3 separate regions of the Homo sapiens genome follow, and regions 1 and 3 are each linked to region 2. Evidence: promoter capture Hi-C in 16 types of primary human blood cells and fetal thymus (Javierre and others, 2016). All regions are on one chromosome and are shown on one strand. The core of a region is centred on a gene start or on the middle of the fragment in contact, and the rest is flanking DNA. Distances in the headings are between cores, read along the strand shown. Region 1 overlaps ZDHHC8 (zDHHC palmitoyltransferase 8). Region 2 holds the start of SCARF2 (scavenger receptor class F member 2). Region 3 has its middle 25 kb from the start of CCDC188.

The links. Contacts are between HindIII fragments. The CHiCAGO score rates a contact against its expected background, and 5 or more counts as called.
Region 1: a contact is called between a fragment that was not itself captured here and the fragment with the promoter of SCARF2 in region 2, in 3 of 17 cell types (M0 macrophages, endothelial precursors and M1 macrophages). The highest score is 7.4, in M0 macrophages.
Region 3: a contact is called between a fragment that was not itself captured here and the fragment with the promoter of SCARF2 in region 2, in 2 of 17 cell types (erythroblasts and endothelial precursors). The highest score is 5.4, in erythroblasts.

What each region holds. Positions count from the first base shown.
Region 1 is chr22:20,138,264-20,141,038 of GRCh38, forward strand. It overlaps ZDHHC8 (zDHHC palmitoyltransferase 8), which reads left to right. Exons shown (of 11, transcript NM_013373.4): 2 at 931-1,052; 3 at 1,215-1,372; 4 at 1,457-1,629; 5 at 1,852-1,954; 6 at 2,354-2,445; 7 at 2,608-2,749. Among named protein-coding and RNA genes, the nearest start is that of ZDHHC8, 7.8 kb to the left of the region's middle. The HindIII fragment of the contact is 2,442 bases long and covers 264-2,705 here.
Region 2 is chr22:20,436,543-20,439,333 of GRCh38, forward strand. It overlaps SCARF2 (scavenger receptor class F member 2), which reads right to left and starts at 1,283. Exons shown (of 11, transcript NM_182895.5): 1 at 1,040-1,283. The coding sequence starts at 1,212. It overlaps LOC107985588 (a long non-coding RNA gene), which reads left to right and starts at 1,454. Exons shown (of 2, transcript XR_001755623.2): 1 at 1,454-1,969. The HindIII fragment of the contact is 6,009 bases long and covers 1-2,791 here.
Region 3 is chr22:20,174,331-20,177,030 of GRCh38, forward strand. No RefSeq gene overlaps it. Among named protein-coding and RNA genes, the nearest start is that of CCDC188, 25 kb to the left of the region's middle. RefSeq lists an enhancer at 2,461-2,700. The HindIII fragment of the contact is 2,001 bases long and covers 378-2,378 here.

The DNA of each region.
Region 1 (2,775 bases), core at 235-2,734, 300 kb before region 2:
TGTTCCTGTCCCTGCTGCTTGTCACAGCAGCTGTCTCAGGGTGCGCAGGGGAGAGACAAGGAGCCTGAGGCCAGAGGGGCTTCTTGGAAGCTGAGTGGGTGGATTTAGGAACCCGCTGCAGGCCGTGTGGCCCGAGGACCGGCAAGTCTCTTCAGAGGGGACTCGGGCCAGGCCCGTTAAGGGCTGAGGAAGGCGCCTTTCAGGAAGGTGTGTGAGGGCACACCTTATAGGGAAGCTGCAGAGGGCAGCCTGGAGTCCTGGAAAGCTTCCCGGAAGAGGGGGTGGCCTTGGAGCCAAGTGCTGATGGCTGGGAAGATGGGAAGTGGTGGGGGGTGTTGTGCATTCTAGAGTCCCTAAGTGTTCTACTTTGTCATCTGGGGAGGGAGGTGACAAACTAAAAAGAAGGGGCTGTCTGGATGGGGATGTGCCTGACTGGGAAGAGTAGGGGAGACATGCCCCATGCACTTACTGACCAAGGACTGGGGCTCCCCACACCCCAGAATCTGCCTGGTGAGAGGCCCCACTGGGCCAGGGACAGGCCTGGATGAGGCATCGTGGCGCATTTTCCATCTGGGGCTCCCACCTCCAGCCTGTGTACCGCCCCCGCCCCCTACCCCGCCCCAGTCATGGAGCCTAGGTCGCTGGAATGGGGTGACCTTAGGTCTGTGGGCCTCTCTGAGACGGCTGCCCTGAGAGGTTGCCGGGTCAGGGCACGGGTAGCCCACATGCTGTACTGATACGCACAGCCTCTGGCCGTTACTCGAAGGAGCGATGTGGCTGAGGTTTCTTGGCAGGGCTGTGGCAGCCTCCCCACTGCCTCTGAGCTCTGAGGGTGACCTTGCAGGCCCAGCCTGCCGCACCACATAGCTCTGCGCCTGCATCCGCTCTGCACCCCCAGACTCCACTCTCTGCCCCCACTGTCTACTGCAGGTGCCCGTGGTTGACACGAGCTGTGTCCCCAGCTGTTCCCGTCTACAATGGCATCATCTTCCTCTTTGTCCTGGCCAACTTCAGCATGGCCACTTTCATGGACCCTGGTGTTTTCCCCCGAGGTAGGGCCCTGTGCTGCGGCAGCTCCTCTCACTTTCACTAGAGTGTGAGTGGCTAACTTGAGACAGCCTTAGGGATTCCTGGTGGGTGGGCTGGACTTGGGGGAGGGATTCACCTGCCAGGAAAGTCAACTTCCTGCTCACTGCCTGGCTCCTGGTCTGTAGCGGATGAGGATGAGGACAAGGAGGACGACTTCCGGGCTCCGCTGTACAAGAACGTGGATGTGCGAGGTATCCAGGTCCGCATGAAGTGGTGTGCCACGTGCCACTTCTACCGCCCGCCGCGCTGCTCCCACTGCAGCGTCTGTGACAACTGTGTAGAGGTGACCGCCCTGCTGCCCCGCGCTCCCCCAGCCCTGTGCCACATCCCTGCCTGCCATGTGCCCTGATGCACTGCTCCCGCCCAGGACTTTGACCACCACTGCCCCTGGGTCAACAACTGCATCGGGCGTCGAAACTATCGCTACTTCTTCCTGTTCCTGCTGTCACTCAGTGCACACATGGTGGGCGTCGTGGCCTTCGGCCTGGTCTACGTGCTGAACCACGCTGAGGGGCTGGGAGCCGCGCACACCACCATCACGTATCCTTGGTTCCTGTGGGCCTCATTGCAGAGGCGATGTGGACCGGGGACACGTTCACCAGGGAGATTGAGCCTCAGAAGGCTTGGTTCCTGCCCAGGGATCCCCAGTGGGCAGGTGGCCGTCCCTAGGTTGGGAGGAGGTTTGTCCACAGGCACCTGCTCTGTGCTGCTGCGATGGGGTCTGCGGTGTCCTGGCCTGCACCGTTGGCCTTAACGGGCTAGCATGGCTGTCATGTGTGTGGCCGGCCTCTTCTTCATCCCTGTCATTGGCCTCACTGGCTTCCATGTGGTGCTGGTCACTCGGGGGCGCACCACCAACGAGCAGGTGCAGACCCCATGGGGGATGGGTGGCCCCAAAGGGCCGAGAGAGTTGGGGCTGCATGGGGACAGGGTGGGGGCTGGGGCACCCTTGCCTGAGGTAGCTTGTGCAGCTGTGTTGAGACGAGGCTCCAACTCTGAGACCCCCACGTGGGGCTACGCCTGCCCCGTCCCCTGCGCACATCCTGCCTGTGGACACTGTGGCCACCAGTGACCCAGAAATCCCACAGCTCCCTGCAAGTTCAGGCTGGGTAACCTATGTGAGGGGCAGCCCTGGGCTGATCCCACCTAAGCCACTTCCCGCAAGTATCAGCTTCTAAGGAACCCCAGCTCCCTTGCCCAGCCCCCTGCCCACCCTGGCCTGGACCTTGGGAGGCCAGGCTGGCTGAGGGTCCTGCATCCACAGGTGACTGGGAAGTTCCGCGGGGGTGTGAACCCTTTCACCCGAGGCTGCTGTGGGAATGTGGAGCACGTGCTGTGTAGCCCCCTGGCGCCCCGGTGAGGCCCGGCCTGGGCAGGGTGGAGGGGGGCCTCTGCTGGGTGTGGGGCGGGCAGCCTTAGACCCTCTTGGTCCGTTTGGCTCTTGCCAGGTATGGCCAGCCCTGCCCTTGTGTGTTTGTGGCAGGTGGGCTGGCTACTGACCCCTGTGCCCTGGTGCAGGTACGTGGTGGAGCCACCCCGGCTGCCGCTCGCGGTGAGTTTGAAGCCGCCTTTCCTTAGGCCTGAACTCCTGGACCGAGCTGCACCGCTCAAGGTCAAGCTTAGTGACAACGGGCTGAAGGCTGGCCTGGGCCGTAGCAAGGTGGGCGCCTGGGCTTAGGGATGGGC
Region 2 (2,791 bases), core at 33-2,532:
GAAACCCCGCGCTGCCCCCTCGCAGCCCCTTGTCTCTGGCGCCGAGCCCCTGGACTCGGCTTGCCCCGGGTCCGTGGCTCAGGCGCCCCGACGCGACCCAGCTCGGAGCCCGGCGGCCGCCTCTGCGGCTGCCAGCCCGTGCGGCGTCTCCAATCCGCGCCAAGGCGCCCCCACACGCCCGCTCCTCACCCCTGCGTGGAGATGCCCTTGACCTTGTGGCCTTTGGCCAGCCCACCGGCTCCCCCGACCCCAGCTCCTAACTCCTGGCGTCCGGGGCTCACCTCTCTGCCCTCCGTGCAAACTCCCGGACTCGCCCCCCCACCGGCCGGGCCTGTCGCCTGCCTGTCCCACACTGGCTTCCCCAGCCGGCGCCCCACATTTGCGCGGCCCCTTCTTGCACCCAGAATCCCCACCTGGTTGTCGCCAGGGTTCCCACATCCTCCGGTCCCCTGTGCCTGTCATAGTCCTTCCGCCTCCCGCTTCTGGTCCACTTCGAGCGCCGGCTCCTCGACGCTCGCCTGGGTCACCACCCTCCCACCCGCGCCCGCTCTAAGACGCGAATCTGTCTTTCCAAGTCTGGCTTGCTCCAGGACCTCCCCGGCTAGCACCGCTCCTCCTCCCCTGACCTTCCTCCTCACTCCCACTCCCGGCTCCAGTCGGACTAGTGCGGGGCTTTAGCACATGCAGTTCCTTTGGCTTGAATGCCCTTCCCCAGCTTTTCCCCGTGGACTTCACAACTCGGTCAAGGGTCCCTTTTTCCAGGTCTTTCCTGATATCCCGGACAACGCGTGTCATCCCCTGGGTGCCCACGGCACTCCATCCTCCCCTCAGGTGACTTCTCGTCCAGGGTTCCCTGGGATGCACTGTCGTGGCCCATGGCCGAGGCTGGGCCTGGAACGGAGCCGCGCTGGCTAGGGAGCCGAAGGGGCCCACACTTGGCGTAGGAAGGTTCCGGTAGCCCCCTCCCAATGCCCGGCGCCGCCACACCACTGCCCAGAGCGTCCCTCTCGCCCCCTCCCCCAGCCAGGCCGGCTCCTACCCGGGAGCACGGCACACGTTGCGGCCGCGAGGGTTCAGTTCCTGAGGCGCCACGGTGTCCGGCAGCATCCAGAGCAGCAGCAGCAGCAGCAGCGACGGCAGCAGCGGTGACGGCGGCCCCCCGGCTCCCCGGCGCCGCGCCGGCCCGGCCCCCCGGGGCCCTGCGCCCTCCATGAGGCGCGGGGCAGGCGCGGGGCGGGCACGGGCGCGGGTGCGGCCGCAGCGAGAGCGGCCGGAAGCGGAGTGCGAGGCCGGGCGGGGGGCGGCAGGAGGGGCGCCGAGCCGGGCAGGAAATTCCACATCGGCTCCCTGATCCCGGGCCAGCCGCGGCCGGCCAGGCGGCAGCGCCCGCCCCGCGCTCCAGACCCCACCCTCCGGCCTAGCCACCGCCCCTCCGCGCAGCCCCCGCCCCCATTTGGCCGCTCGCAAACTTGGGGGCGAACTTGGAGGAGGCCCGCCGAGCGCTGGTGGAGGGAGGGTCCGCCCGAGGAATCCCCGGTTCCCGCGCCTTTCCCTCCGCTCCCTAGACATCTACCGAAGCAGCCGCCCCTGCGCGCCCACTGCGTAGGCCAGGCCCGGGACGGGAAGGCGGATCGGGGACACGGACGCGACTCCGCAAGCCCACCCCCGCTCCCAGCGCCTCGGAACCGGCCAAGGGAGTGGGGCCCGCAGACAGCCCAGGTCGAGGCCGAAAGCCAACTCCACAGCACCCCACCGCGAAGTCCTTGTAGTGCTGGGGTGTGCGGTCAGCTCCCCCTGCGCACTCCTGCGCACTCAGAGCTCGCAAGGGGCGGACCGAGCAGGATGCTTGAGGCCTGTGGTAGACTCGGTCCGGACCAGAGGCCTGGGGGAAGGGGTCTCCGTAGGGACGGATGGGAGAGATACAGAGGAAGTAGAATGGCCAGGCTGTGGACTGCGGTAGGAAGTAGAGGTAAAGACAGAAGGAGACCCCCGGGATGGAAACCCTGCAGTCCTAGTTGAGGAGTGAAGGGGGCTGGGGGAGCCTGGGCGGTGGATTCTGCTGGCTGTCGGATTTCCAGGAGAGGCTGGGGCTAGAGAGTGGGAACTCCTGCATCAGGTAAGGTGGGTAACAGCACAGAGCAGAAGGAAGGTGTGGGAAGGGAGCAAGACAGAGGGACAGGCCCTAGGGAGCCAGCGGGGAAGCTGGACTTGGACTGGGAGGCAGCAGGGTGCGGGTCCCCGGGGGGCAACTGGGGCAGACCGACTCTGGAAGTTGGGCAGGGAGCACAAATGTCCCGTGTGTAGCCAGGTCCTAGTGAGGATGTTTGTCTTTTGGGGACTTGAGAGCTGGCAGAAGGCCTAAGCAGGGAGCGGGCACCTCCGTTCTTTGGGGAGCAGGCCACATGCGGCCCACAGGCTCACTGAGGGAGGGCAGGCAGACTCTGTCCAGGTGTGGCCAGATAGCCCCGAAGGGTGGGGCTGGAGGAGGGGGCTTGGAGGAGGAGCCACTGAAAGGCCCAAGGCCATGGGCATCACCAGGCTGGCACAGGCAGAGAGTGGGATGGGGAGGAGCAGGCCCCTCACTCAGCCATGCTGGTGCAGGAGGGAGGTGGGGTGGGCTGAAAGAGAAGTGGAACTAGTGTGGACACGAATGCAACTACCTGGGGACAAATAAACAGGCCAACCACTTCTGGGCAGCTCAGCCTGGGCACAGCCCTGACCTCAGCAATGCCCTCCCAGTGCTGGGGCCCCTCCCACGGAGGATCCGGATTGCGGCTCCCAATAGAGGCCA
Region 3 (2,700 bases), core at 128-2,627, 260 kb before region 2:
TGTGCAGGGAGTCTGATCAGGGTTCTGTCTCACTGTGGGACAGTGGGGGCCGGGGAAGAGCGGCAGGTACCAAGTGCAGACAGCAGATGTAGATGCATGCGGGGGTCCGGGCTGGGGCCAAGAACACAGCCCTGGAGTCAGGGACACCGGCTTCATGTCCTCACTCTGCCATTCAAGAGCTGGGGGACCTCGGGCAGGTGGTGTAGGAACAGGGAGGAGTCTGCCTGCAGCACGCAGAGGAGGGCTGTGCTGGTCAGGGGGTGTTTTGGGGAGAGGACCTCAAAGGGAGGTTGACTTTGGGAAAGGGGTCAGAGTACAGAAAAAGTGGGTCCAAATCCTGCTTCAGCACTGAGACCCTGCCTCGGCAGGGGTCTCCAAGCTTGGCTCCACCCCCTGAGGGGCCAGTTACTGCATACCTCGCCCACCCAGGAGCTGGGGGCCCTGGTCCTGTTTCCCAGGGAGCTGTTGGCACTTGTGGGCTCCTGGCTGGGGTCCAGGTGGGCTCTGCTCCTCTGCCCTGCCCAGCGCTTTGTACTGAGCCCATCCTGCAGAGACTCAACGGGGCCAAACGCACATTCCTTGACCTTCTGTGAGTCTGTCAGTCTTCATCCCTCCCTGGACCTAGGAAGGCCTGGACAGCTTTGACCATTGGTGTTGGGTGGACATGGCGCTGCGCTGCACCCCAGGCCCTCAGAGCCCAGCTGTTCTGCTTTCTGCTTTTGGTCCTGAGCTGCCTTGAAGGAATCTGACCAGCAGGGAGAGCCCACGGAGCGGGAGGGCCTGTGGGGCTCAGCCCTGCAGCCGGTCTGCCGAGGCCAGGCCTGGGGGCACAGCTGGGGCTGAGTACACTGAATGCCCCCTCGATGCCATGCACAGCAGAAGAGCTGCCCACACCGCCCTGCTGGGCCCTGCCCGGGCTCCAGACCCACAGACCAAGCACACAAGAGACTGGGCTGCTTTGTCATGCAGCAGCAGGTAGCCGGACACATGTTTCCCCATTCCCCTGCCATCCTCTGAAATCCTGTGGGGAGAAAGCATGTGAGGTCCAGTGGGGGTTGGGGTGAGGGTCTGACTGGGGGCTTTCTAACCCACGTCTGAGTCCCATCCGGCGCCAGTGCCACAGTGGCGGGTGACTGGTGCTGCTCACACTGGCAAGCTCCTACCTAGACTTTGGAGCCCAACTCCACAAGGCCCCTGAACTACCCCTGTAGGCACCGCAGCCCCCTTGCCTTCCTCTGCTACGACATCAACCACTCTGATGGTATTTGTGGTTTGATGTGTTTAAGTAAAAGGCTTGTTGCAGAGTTTAATTGACCCCATATGTCTGCCTGAGGAGGCCGTGAGCTGCAGAGGGCAGGTGTGAGCTGGGCTCTTTCCTCAGTCCCCATGTCTTGCTGGGTACTCACAGGGCACACACGAGCACGTGCGGCAGGGGCAGGGGCCAGCGGGGGATGGGGAGGCTTGGCGCCCACGGCCCCGCTGCCCCATGTTTCCACTGCAGCCGAGGAGAAAACGAGGACTTTACGGCTGTCACAAACATTTCATCTTGTGCATTTTACAGTCCACGACTGCTGTGAACACTGGGGCTCCTGTCGGAGCTAGAAGATTCATAAAATGCATGTGAATTATTTTATTTTATTTTATTGTTTTGAGATGGAGTCTCACTCTGTCACCCAGGCTGGAGTGCAGTGGCGCGATCTTGGCTCACTGTAACCTCCACCTCCTGGGTTCAAGCAATTCTCCTGCCTCAGCCTCCCAAGTAGCTGGGACTATAGGCGTGCGCCACCACGCCTGGCTAATTTTTTTGTATTTTTAGTAGAGACGGGGTTTCGCCATGTTAGCCAGACTGGTCTCAAACTCCTGACCTCAAGTGATCCTCCCACCTCGGCCTCCCAAAATGCTGGGATCACAGGTGTGAGCCACTGCGCCTGGCCAAATGCATGTGAATTTTTATGTTCAATTATTCCAGGTTCCCTGCTCGGGGCCCATGGGCTTCCCCATGTACAACCCACCGGTAGGTCCCCGCCCAGTCCATGCTCCTCAAAGGCCAGCCTCACACCCATCCCACGTCCTCTTGGCTGGTAAACACTCTCCCCCTTCTTCCTTCTCCCTCCACATCTCAACTGCTGGAAGGGAAGAGCTCCTCAGTCTACTTGGAGTCCCTCCTGCACAAGAGGATCCAGGGTGGTCCAGGAGGGCCAAACCCACCTCTTTGGGTGCACCCCTGGGCAGTGGATTGGGGATCCAGGGCTTGTGGGGGTATGCACCCACCAGGGCAGGTCCCTCAGGCTCACTCTCCCTGCGCCTCAGTTTCCTCTCCTGAAAAATGGGCTTGTGACTAAATGTTGCAGGGAGCTGCTGAGAAAACGCCTGCTGAAAGCTTGGCAGGAGGTCATTGTGACCAGGGATGGGGCTGGGTGCTTCGGTCAGGCCAGGGCTGGAGGCAGGGGCTCACACTGGGGTCAGCAGTGCAGGGGCGTGGCTGGCGTGGCAGGCGCATGGGGATTGGCTCATCAGTTGCGGCCTCACGTCCCTTCGTTATGGCGCCTGCAGAAGATGTTCTCTGATTAGTCTGCTGAATTATGAATTAGGTTCCGGGTCCCTGTGCAGCTGTTCCCGGCTTGTCATCCCCACCACTTTATTTCCCCATCTGTTTATAAAACCAGGAGCGCCGTCCTGCAATAAACACTTCAAACGCTT